Linked DNA regions of Homo sapiens: region 2 is linked to region 1. The links are contacts of gene promoters, found by promoter capture Hi-C in blood cells and fetal thymus (Javierre and others, 2016). All regions are on one chromosome and are shown on one strand. Each heading gives the region's core, a stretch centred on a gene start or on the middle of the fragment in contact. The rest is flanking DNA. Distances are from core to core; before and after follow the strand shown. Region 1 holds the start of C10orf126 (chromosome 10 open reading frame 126). Region 2 has its middle 38 kb from the start of LYZL1.

Evidence for each region. The method cuts DNA at HindIII sites, captures the fragments that hold promoters and counts their contacts. A CHiCAGO score of 5 or more calls a contact.
Region 2: a contact is called between a fragment that was not itself captured here and the fragment with the promoter of C10orf126 in region 1, in 1 of 17 cell types (endothelial precursors). The highest score is 5.4, in endothelial precursors.

Annotation. Positions count from the first base shown.
Region 1 is chr10:28,843,751-28,849,593 of GRCh38, reverse strand. It overlaps C10orf126 (chromosome 10 open reading frame 126), which reads right to left and starts at 3,186. Exons shown (of 5, transcript NR_164114.1): 1 at 3,131-3,186; 2 at 2,331-2,475; 3 at 1,228-1,378. The HindIII fragment of the contact is 7,202 bases long and covers 1-3,944 here.
Region 2 is chr10:29,248,349-29,254,191 of GRCh38, reverse strand. No RefSeq gene overlaps it. Among named protein-coding and RNA genes, the nearest start is that of LYZL1, 38 kb to the left of the region's middle. The HindIII fragment of the contact is 2,148 bases long and covers 1,296-3,443 here.

The DNA of each region.
Region 1 (5,843 bases), core at 1,937-4,436:
GCTGTCGGCTGGCTACACTCCTTGAAGCTGCCAGGTAAGTCCTTTCTCCAGTGAAGATCTGAATCATTGCACACCTCAATGCCTACCTCCATCCATCCCTGCAGGGCATCCAGTAATCTTCAAAACATCTGGGAGTTTTTCCCCAGAGTAGAGTCACTTGAATAAATGTCTTTTGGGGAAGGACAAAAGGAATTATACCCATAGACTTGGTGTGGTGTTGCTGGGTCCTTCATCCTGGGAACATGGCCACCCTTTCTATTGGGGGATTCCAGGTCTGAAAACTGCCTCAGGTTCCAGGTACTAGACAAGGAATTGCAAATGTTTGATAGAGCAAACACCCTCAGCCTCCTGGGCATCCTTGTTGGATTTTTTTTTTTTTTAATACAAGGTCTCACTCTGTTTCCCAGGCTGGAGTGAAGTGGCACAACTTCAGCTCACTGCAACCTCTACCTTCTGGGTTCAAGTGATTCTCCTGCCTCAGCCTCCAAGTAGCTGGGACCACAGGTGCACACCATCGCATCCAGCTGATTTTTGTATTTTTAGTAGAGACAGGGTTTCACCATGTTGGCCAGGCTAGTCTTGAATTCCTGACCTCAAGTGATCCACCCACCTCGGCCTCCCAAAGTGCTGGGATTACAGGTGGGAGCCACTGCGCCTGGCCTGTGTTGGCTATCTTTTGATTAGATGTATTGAGAAGTATCCTCACAAGATTCCCATCTGTTTCACCCCATCATCACTACTCTCTGTGGATTCAACTCCACAACAGCCTTTCACACCACCAGTTGTGGTCTGCAGAGGAAAGCCTTCAGCTAATTTCCCAATGGCTTGGTGAATGCTGTGTTCTCCAGACCTCCCTGGGCATAATAATCCTCTGATGGGTCTTCTGATCGCCATAATATACCAGCATGTTCACTTCCCTGAGCCTTTAAAAATCTGTTTCAGCTCCGCTCAGCATGGACCTATCTCCAGGCTTGTTGAACCACCCAAGCAGCAAGTCTGCACCATCCTCTAGGGTCTTTGCCAAGCATTAAGTCCCATATCCTGAGAAAATGCCCTCACATTCCTGTATTCTCCTTTATCCTGCCTCCTTGATCAAGCGCCTTCAAAATCCAGTTCCTTCCTTCTAGTACATGGGGGTGAATTTTTCACAGTTTGAGGGAGGTACAGTCTCTTTCTAGCTCATCAGTGTTGCCATAATATTCTTGGCTTGGTGATGTTGCGACTTACCTCTAGTGATTGGTCTGGCAACCAGGCAAGAAGTTGAGGATCCTGAGAAGCCCTCCTTGGCCCGTGGGGACAGAACTCTGTGGTGTTGGCCCATATGGGTAGTTTCAGATCATAACAGGGAAGGATGAGCCACCTCTGCAGGCTCTGAGGGCTTAGAAGAGTTTGAGAGCTCAAAATATTTGGAGGCATCCACCCAAATGTCCCCATCCCGTGCACAAGAGCTCCATGTTTTCCCAACCAGTGCTCTGATCTTTGTGTAATGATAATCATCTTTGAAGCTAGGCAAGCCTATTAAATCCATAGTTTGGTCTTCTGCTTTTTCTACACTGAATGGAGTGAATATGGGCCCCATTCCTGGAGGCCCTCAGGCCTTCACAAGTGGCTTTCAATTGCTCCCTAACTGCCTACAGCTTTTCATTATCCTAATGTAGAGCCTCAATTCAATTGAGCAACAAGCAGCCAATTCCATTGTCCTTGGATACCTTGCTTCTCTCTGACCTCTCAAATGCCTGAATCCTCTCTCCATCCGGGGCTTTCCCGTCCACCAGAACATTCTTCCAAGTCACTGACATTGAACGTTTTAGGCAGGGCTCAGTGGCCCGTGCCTGTAATCCCAACACTTTGGGAGGACAAGGCAAGAGGATCACTAAAGGCCAGGAGTTCAAGACCAGCCTGAGCCTTGCTCTGTTGCCCAGGCTGGAGTGCAGTGGCATGATCATAGCTCACTGCAGCCTCGAGCTCCTGCGCTCAAGCAATCCTCCCGCCTCAACCTCCTGAGTAGTTGGGACTCCAGGCATGAGCCACCATGCCTGGCCGCAACATTCAGATGGATTTTTAAACTACCTGAGCTAAGTTAATTTCCTCATAGATTGGATGTGGATGTGAGAGCAAAAGAAGAGTCAAGGATGACCCAAGGGTTTGCTTTGAGCACATTCCTCAGTGCTTCCAGGGCATATGGCCTCTGAATGGTGCCCATGGGCTTATAAATCCATCTCCTCCCAAGAGATAACACATTTATTTTGTCCCTGGACCTTATGAAAGTTGTCAGAATCAAAATAGAATCACTAGTGTTTTTTAAGGAAAACAACAAACAAACAAAAAACCTGAACTGGATGCAGTGGTTCATGGCTGTAGTCGCAACTCAGGAAGCTGAGGCAGGAGGACTATTTGAGCTCAGGAGGTTGAGGCTGCAGTGAGCTATGATCACACCATTGCACTCCAGCCTGGGCGACAGAAAGAGGCCCATCTCTAAAAAACAAACATAAAAAGACTTCACTCTCATCACTCTTGAGATTAAGGATTTACCTAAGTAGTAAAATATGTCAGATCAGATTCTGGCCTCAGGAACTCTGAATCTGGGATGTGAAAAGGTTTCTGGAGAGGCATTCTGTTTCTCATATCATTAACCACAGGAAGATATTATTTGGTATACAAGAGGACATTGCTTAAAGAGGTGAGAAACAGAAACTATCTCTCCCTTATATTTCTCCAAATACCTTGTAAAGTTGTGAGTTAAAGAAAAAAGAATGATGTTCACTCAAAGGGGAGATGCAAAAATAAAAAGGTAAAACCTTTTCCCTTACCCTAAGGAGATAATGTGTGCATTTTAAAAAAGTTCTAATATTGTTTCTGCAAGTCAATATATAAGCATTATTGAAAAGTCCAATCTTGCCTGTGTTTTACAGCTCTCAGCTCCTTTCAGGAAGCAACTAAATCAGAAAACAGTGTTCTCTCTTCCTTGGAGCTGGCACAGGTTTTGATAACATCGATTGAATGCCAAGCGTAAGTACAGATTGGAAGTTAGAAGTATTGCTATTGACCGTTTTCTAATATGTCCTTCAGCTCAGTAATTAATCGATTTGTGACAAAATGAATAAGAAGCTGAGGTCTTCTAAGAGCTTACCATGTGGCAGACGCGAGCTCAGTGCTGTACATTCGCATTCATGCTCTTCATCCCTGTCTCTCAAGCCACTCGTCACACCCACACTCTCCGGGCCAGGAGGCTTGCACAACCTGCACTGGGAAACTTTCTCCCACCTGTTCTTGACTCCTGAAACCCCTCCACGGTGCCATCAGCCTGATCCACTAATAGCAAAACGCCTCACATCCCAAACTAACTTCCAAATAGTCCCTCCTTGTTCTGACAAAAACTGACTCTTCCCTGAGGACGATGCTCACATCTTCTCTCATGCGCTGGCTGTTTTTCTTTTTCTTTTTTTGAGATGGAGTCTCCCTCTGTAGCCAGGCTGGAGTGCAGTGGTGCGGTCTCAGCTCACTGCAACCTCCACCTCCCGGGTTCAAGTGGTTCTCCTACCTCAGCCTCCCAAGTAGCTGGGATTACAGGCACACACCACCACACCCAGCTAATTTTTGTATTTTTAGTGGAGACGGGGTTTCACCATGTTGACCAGGATGGTCTCAATCTCTTGACCTCGTGATCTGCCCGTCTCAGCCCCCCAAAGTGCTGGGATTACAGGCGTGAGCCACTGCGCCCAGCCACTGGCTGTTTTTCATTCCAGGCCCTCCTGCCACCTCCTGCAGACCTGGAGGTGATGGAGGGACCCTGCTGGTCCTCTTTTCCCCTTCCAGAACCTTCTCCTTCCCTTCTACTGCAAATCTCGTACCATCATCATCTATCACCCCTGAAACTGTCCCTAGAAACTTTATACAATTAATCAGAAGAGAAGGGAGGGAGAGAAACAAAAATAAGCCAAGCTTGCACATACTCAGTGTTAGTCATGGGGTCAGCTGTTCTCTGATCCTTCCTCATAGTGTTTTGCTACCTATTGCTCCAGAATCACACAGACCCTGTCACAAGATTAGAGTCCCCCTTCACTGCTCCACAGATAACAACTGAACATTGTGAAATGTTGCTTTCCATTTGAGATATTCTTGTAGGTCATGCATACTGATGAAACTACTGACGCCAGCTGGTCTGAAGGACCCCACGAGAAGCTGACTCACTGAAGAATGCAGTTTCTACATCCTGATGATTTCATCCCCCTTTCCCCAACCAATCAATGACTATAGTTTTTCAGCCCCTCACCCCCCATAATCCCCTTGAAAACCTCAGCCTAGAACTCTTCGGGGAGATGGATTTGAGGGTCTTCTCCCATCTGCTCACTCGGCCTCCCTGCTGTCATCAAACCCTCTCTCTGCTGCAAAGCCTGCTGTCTTGGTGTATTGGTCTGTTTCTGCACAACAGGCATACAAACATGTTGGTCCTGTAATACCCCTGCCCAACATTGTTCACCACCTTTTTCAACAACATCAGTTCTCAGCCCATTGGCATCCTCCCCAATACTTCTCCTCTCTTTTCTGAGCATGTTCAATGCATAGATAATAATCTTTCCAAAACTCCACCATCATAGGTCATTAAACTTCTCTCCTCCTTCAGGCATCTTGACCTCTACCCTCCTAGAAACAGTCACTCACTTTGATGGCAATACATGGATCTTGTCATGCACATTCATTGCAGTCCTTAGCCCCTTTTAACTTCTAATTACTCTGGGGCTCAGTCGTTGCTGTTGTTTTCATCTCTGTCTCTACTTACTCCGTTGGAGATCTCATGTGGTTCCATGGCTTTAAATACTACCCACACACTGATAACTCCCAAATGAATATCTCCAGTCCAGTCCTCTGTCCTGAACTCCAAACCTGCATATCCAATAGCGTACTCATCATTTTCACTTGAATATCTAAAATACTTCTCTAACTCACACGTCCACTACTAAACTGATTTTCCCTACCTATCCCACTGTACCCACAACCTTCCCCATGTTAGTTAGTTGATGACAATTTCGTCCTTGTGGCCTAAAACAGAACACTTCTTGGATTCATCCTTGACTCCTCTCTTTCTCCCCTATCCTACATCCAATTCATCAAGAATATCCCTTGTCTCTTTCTTCAAAACACATCCAGATTCTGACAACTTCTCACTGCCTTTGCTGCTCTTATTCTGATCCCAATACCATCTGGAGGACTGCTCTAGCCTCCTGGAGGCTGCCTTTACTGCTCTTGTTCTGATCCCAATACCATCTGGAGGACTGCTCTGGCCTCCTGAAAGGCCCCCCTGCTCCTATACCTTGCCCCTTATCATCTATTCCATGTGATTCAGGCTTCTGTGACCTCTCTAGTCTCAGCTCCTACCATCCCAGCTCCAGCACAGCAATTCCCTTCTGCTCCTCAGTCAACCTCCAGGCTCCTTCCTTTCCTCAGCCTGAACATCATGCCGTCAAAGATCCACACGGCTCACTTCCTCTCCCTGTCTAAGACTTTATTCAAATCTCATGATCTCATATTGTCATAAGCCAGTTCTCATCATCCTATTTAAACTCACAACTTTAGCTCCTTCCTCAAACACACTATTCCTTTATCCTGCCCTACACTCTTCCTTTTCTTTGTTATTTCTTTCATTTTGGACAGCATGGCATTTATTATCTTCTGACAGTCTATATAATTTACTTTATTATTATGTTTATTATTGATTATGTTTATATTGAATTCCTTTCATCCTCTTCTTGGTAGAGATAGAGTCATTGAGCACGATAATACAGAAGCTGTTGTGTTGCAGATTACCATGGCAATAACGACAACAAAAAAAAGTGCAGTCTTTT
Region 2 (5,843 bases), core at 1,120-3,619, 410 kb before region 1:
CCTCCTCCTTCTCCCTTTCTTTCTCCTTATATTCTCCTTTTTCTTCTTTTTGTTCAAGGTTTCCAAAGCAGAATCAGCTTTGGTAACTCTGAGCTGGTGTGCTGTGACTTATAGGAGAACATACACGTCTCACTCCAAAGGGGTGTCAGAAGCTGTGGAAGTGGATGAATGGGAAGTTTGCTTTGAAGAAGCTAATTGTCAAGATTCATTTGCTATTCAGGTTCTCCTCTTGCTGGCCTGGGCAGTGTATAATTTGTCCCAGTAAGGAGCTGTTCACTTTTTAATCAGATTGAAGCATGCTTCATTGCTATAGGTGTCCTGCTGAAATCCAACCCGGTTATATTTCACTGCCAATGTGGGCAATTACACGAGCCATTTAATATATACTTTTGTCCATGAAACCACTTGCTGTAGAAACTCCCGCATTAGAAACAGCTTGTAAATAATCTGCTGCCTGAGCATTTCACCTGCTGTAATTTCTCCTAAAACCACAGCATATCTACTTAGTGACAAGTCCAAGTCATCTGCTGCACAGCTTAGGTCATCCAAGGGTTGACAGCAGAGATGTCTATTTCAAATGACAACTCCAGCTGACTTCAGCCCAAATTCCATCCCTTTTCCCTATTGCTGAAAATGGTCTGCTCTCTTTGCAACGTATGCAAGCTATTTTTCCCCCTTTTCTCTTTGAGCAGCCATAAAACGTTACAGGCTGTGCTGTGATCATTCTCTTTATCCCATAAGGAGAGAGGAGAGGGCGAGCCTGTGGGATGAATGCACATGGACTTCTCTTGGCACAGACATGATCTGGAGCAAGGCGTTGGCATGCTCCAGACCTGGGGCGAACGTGACGCTCCCCTGGGTGTCTCGCTGCGAACAGAATTGAGCCAGAAGACGTTGACTCGAACATTCCTGTGACCTTCGGCTGCACGGAGGAGTCATCTGCTTCTTCTGCAGCAGACGGGGCTGATGATCCCCCAAGGAGATGTCAGATTCACTCTCAGGATGGAAAAACCAAAGCAACACTTGAGCTCATCTCTGCTGTCTTTTAATCATCTGCCAGATCAATAAACTGCTCCCTGGGACTGGATTCTTCAAGACAGCGTCTGGTATGGATTCTCTGCGTGGTATAAAGTCCATTGGCTGGAATAGGCTCAGGCTTGCAGCACGCTTTCCAGCCCAGCCAGCCAAGGCACTGAGCTGAGCTTTCAATTTGCCCCTGCCCTGGACGTGGGGACTCTGGGTCAAAGCCCCTAAGGGCAGTGCCCCAAGTGTACCCACACAGGATGAATGAAGCTTCTTAGATGCTCCTGCCAAAGGTAGTAAGGATGGATAGAGGTACTGAGGTGGCTTCCCAGACAGAGGACTTGCCTCAGGGACTGTAAGGATCAAGTCAGGCTTAGCTACCGTCTTGCAACTGTGACAACACCTGATACTCACACTTGAGTTTCCCTATTCCCAACACATACCCAGGATATTCTGGAATTCAACTGATCTCTCAGGCTGAATGCCTTTATTAGTGTTACTATTATTTTGAGAGAGAGAGAGAGAGAGTCTTTCTCTGTTGCCCAGGCTGAAATGCAGTGGTGTGATCGTATCTCATTGTAACTTTGACTTCCTGGGCTCAAGCAATCCTCCTGCCTCAGCCTCCCCAACAGCTGGGATTACAGGCACACATCACCACAACTAGCTAATTGTCTTACTCTTTGTAAAGATGGGGTCTTGCCATATTGCCCAAGCTGGTCTCAAACTTCTGGCCTCCAGTGATCCTCCCACCTTGGCCTCCCAAAATGTTGGGATTACAAGCATGAGCCACCATATCCAACCTGAATGTTCTAATCCACAACTTGGGGTTGTTAATACCTGTCTTCTAGAATGGTTGGTGAATCAAGTGAGATCACGGCAGTGCATCACATTGTTTATGATGTGATAGGTGTCACAGCACATGGAAACATCTAAGCTCCATAAACCTTTAAAAAACCACTTGCAAGGTTGATGCCCTGCCAAGTTGTCAGGAGGGGAAACTTATTTTGTCTGCTTGCCTTAGAACATCCTTCCTCCAATTTCTGAACACCTAGGGTCTTTAATTCGACCTGACCACACTGCTGGAATTCCATTTTCTTAATCAGTGACTTGGTTAATTCTCAATTCTTTATACTGATGGAAGCTAGGATGGTCCTTTAGAGGCTCTAGATACTGCAAGTGTTATGGTGCTCCTAGAAATTCAAGATAAAAATATACAATAAATACAATAAAGAGCAATCAAGCTCTTATTTTCTTTAGATAATGACTTCAGTAGTGTGTTTGTAATTTTTCACATCCATTCTTTTCCAAACTGTTTTGGGGATCCCACTTTGTCGACACCTGAAGGATGTGCTCAGTCTCTTTATACCAGGTAACTCTGATCTGATTTCTGTCAATCACCCCAACTTTGCTTCTCTGCTCACCTGCTGATGAGCTCTAAAGTCTTAGAGTCAACAATGGGAGGGGGAATGACTACAAAAGGTGAGGTGAGAACAGCACACAGAAGCCATTGTGGTGAATGTTGCTTTGGTTACAAAAACCAGAATCCAGAAATTTCAGAACAGGAAGGGCCTCAGAGTTCATCTCATCCAGCTTTTCCCTCCCCAGCAGGTGCAGGTGAAGCCAGTGAGTTCCCCGGGGACATTATGAAGTAGTGAGCAGAGCATGGGCTTTGCAGCCAGAAGGCATGGGTGTTCTTACATTTAGAGATGCATGGGGGTGAAATAATAGGATGTCTGGAAAGCAATCCTGACAAAACAAAAATAGACGAAGTAAATCTGGAAACCGATGAATAACTATTCAAGCTAGGTGATGGGCATGAGAGAGCATGATCTATTTTCTCTACTCTTCTTATGTTTGAAAAATCTAGTAATAATTTTTAAAAGCCAGCATATGTGGATTCCCATTTTGACCTTGACACTTTTCGAATAGGTGATACAAGGCTGCCCATTCCACCTCTTGGCTTCCTCAATTATAAAATCAGGATATTGATGGTCATCACTGTTTGAGGATATAATGGGGTGAGGAATAAAACTCCTTTGTTAACTCTAAAGTACTACACAAATGTAAGTTGTTTACTGATTAAAGCAGAACATATATTAATCAAATACCTGATGCAACAGCTTATAAGTGGCTCAACTGGGTCTAACACTGCTCCCCCAAATGGGAGTTTTCCAACATGGAACTTCACGAGGAACCCTGCCTCTGCAGGCAGCTTTGGACATTTGCAGAGGGTGTAGTGACATAGACTTTAGTCCAGGTTTCCATTCAGGGGCATGACTGGTGTGGAAGGAAGGACAGAGGAGGAGGCTTGGCTGCAGCTCCTTGGCAGACAGAGAGGGTCTCTTTTCTTTTGCTATTGATTTCAGGGCATCCAATGCTAGCAACTTGCTTTTTTATTTTCAGCGGGGACCATGAAAGCTTGATGAGAGTGGGGATAAGAACCGAGCCTTCCTTGTCGCCCCTTCTTGGGGGATGATGACTGGGGCTGATGCTGGAGGGTGCCTGGGATCACTTTTTGCATCACTCTGGACCAGATGGCCCTTGGCCTTTGGGTGTGTCCAGTGTCACTGTGCTGTGCTGTGTGGGAGGACAGGCTGCCTAATTCACCACGTGCACCACATTGGACAAACCAGTGTTCCTGCCCAGGTTGCATGTCCTAAGCCAGAGAATGGGCCATTAACATTTGTCTCATAGGATGGTTGGTGAATCAAGTGAGATCATGACAACATATCATGTTGTTTAGGATGTGGTAGGTGTCACAGTGAATGGAAAAATCTCAGCCTCATAAACATTTTTGAAAGCCACTTGCAGGGTTAATGCTCAGCCAAGTTGGGAGGAGGGGAAACTTACCCTGTTGGCTCACTTTAGAGCACCCTTCTCCCAAGTTCAAATACAAAGGGCTTTTAATTAGGCTTCTTCCTTTCCACGCATTCCAACCTCTCCCTCCCTTTCCTCCCTCCTCTCAAAAGCTGCTTGGAACTAGCTGTCCCACTAAAACAAGTCCATCTGCTCATTTTTCCCTTTTACTAGGGACACTTTCATGTTACTGGGACCACAAAGTAAGCCCCCAAAATGAAATGATATTTGAGACCTGTGGTTGTCTGTTTTGCATGGTTATAAAGGAATACCTGAGGCTTGGTAATTTATAAAGACAAGAGGTTTATTTGGCTCATAGGTCTGGAGGCCGTATGGTATCGGCATCTGCTCAGCTTCCAGTGAAGCCTCAGGAAGCTTTTACTCATGGTAGAAGGGAAGCAGGTGTGTCACATAGTGAGAGAGGGAGCAAGAGAGAGGAGGAGGTGCCAGAATATTTTTAACAATCATATTTCATGTGAACTAACAGAGCAAGAACTCACTCATTACCATGGAGTGCACCAAGCCATTCATGAGGGATCTGCCCCCACCCCATGACCCAAACACCTCCCACCAGGCCCCTCCTCCAACACTGGGGATCACATTTCAACATAAGCTTTGCGGGGACAACCATTCAAACTATATCAAGACCTGTGGGACCCATCAATGGAGAGGGGACCTGGCATCCAACCCCACGCAGAGGAACACAGCGTAGGTCAAGATGTGAACAGAGACGGACAGATGGGCAATCCTAAACATGCATTCAACTGACCCGAGATGCATTTTGTATTTCTCTTGTCTTGCTGGATCCTTGTACAGCTTTGAAGCTATGTCCACATTGCATTCATCTCTTTTGTCTTCAAAAGCTCAAAGTAGAAAGAGATTTTCACTGGTGAAACATCACTATGGCTCCAGACATAAACTCACGGATCCTGCTGTGAAATGACTTTTCTCATTAAGGGCCATTCACTGAAATAATTAGAGCAGAGAATCCAATATTTGGGTTTCTATGACTTTCTCCCTTGTGAACTGTCACATGCTGAAATTTTAAAGACAGATCTCCCTTTGTGACAGGCGTCCTTTACTGACCTATTTGGGGTCACATATTTGGAATCCAGGTCCCACCTACGTCAATGGAAATCCTGTGGGCAGAGAGCGGGAGGGCGTTCTGACACACCCACACCAGCCTCAAGCCTTCAAAGCACAGGGCTGAGCTAGGAAGAGGGATTTTATTGTTTGTGTCTTTGGAAGTATGCTCTTTGGTTTAACTAGTAAGAATGGCTAGACCTTTTTTGCTATTCATTTTCATACTAAAATTTGTTTAAAATATCCAAACTTGAAACATAAATATTTATATTTAAAAAGGCATTTATTTCACAATTTCTAGACTTCTGGAATGTCAGACCAATTGATAGCTAAAATCGACTCCCCTGCCTTGTTTTTATTTGAGTTGGAGTCTTGCTCTGTCGCCCAGGCTGGCATGCAGTGGTGTGATCTCGGCTCACTGCAACCTCCATCTCCCGGGTTCAAGCGACCCTCCTGCTTCAGCCTCCTGAGTAGCTGGGACTACAGGCGCAGGCCACCACACCCAGCTAATTTTTGTATTTTTAGTAGAGACGGGGTTTCCCCATGTTGGCCAGGCTGGTCTCGAACTCCTGACCTCAGGTGATCTGCATGCCTCAGCTTCCCAAAGTGCTGGGATTACAGGCATGAGCCACTGCACCCAGCCACCCTGCCTTGTTTTTAAAGAGTGTGAGGGTGGGAGGGGAGATTGCTCTTTTGCACCATACCTGAGAGTCACCTATCTTTGAGCAGAAAGTCTCTGAGACTTACCTATGCATGTACATATAGAAAAATACACATTGAATAAGACATCCTGCAAACAATGACCAACTTTTGGCTCTTATTTTGTTTGTATCTTTCCCACCACAAGTTTGCCTTTCTACCAAGTGCTGGAACATCTGTGA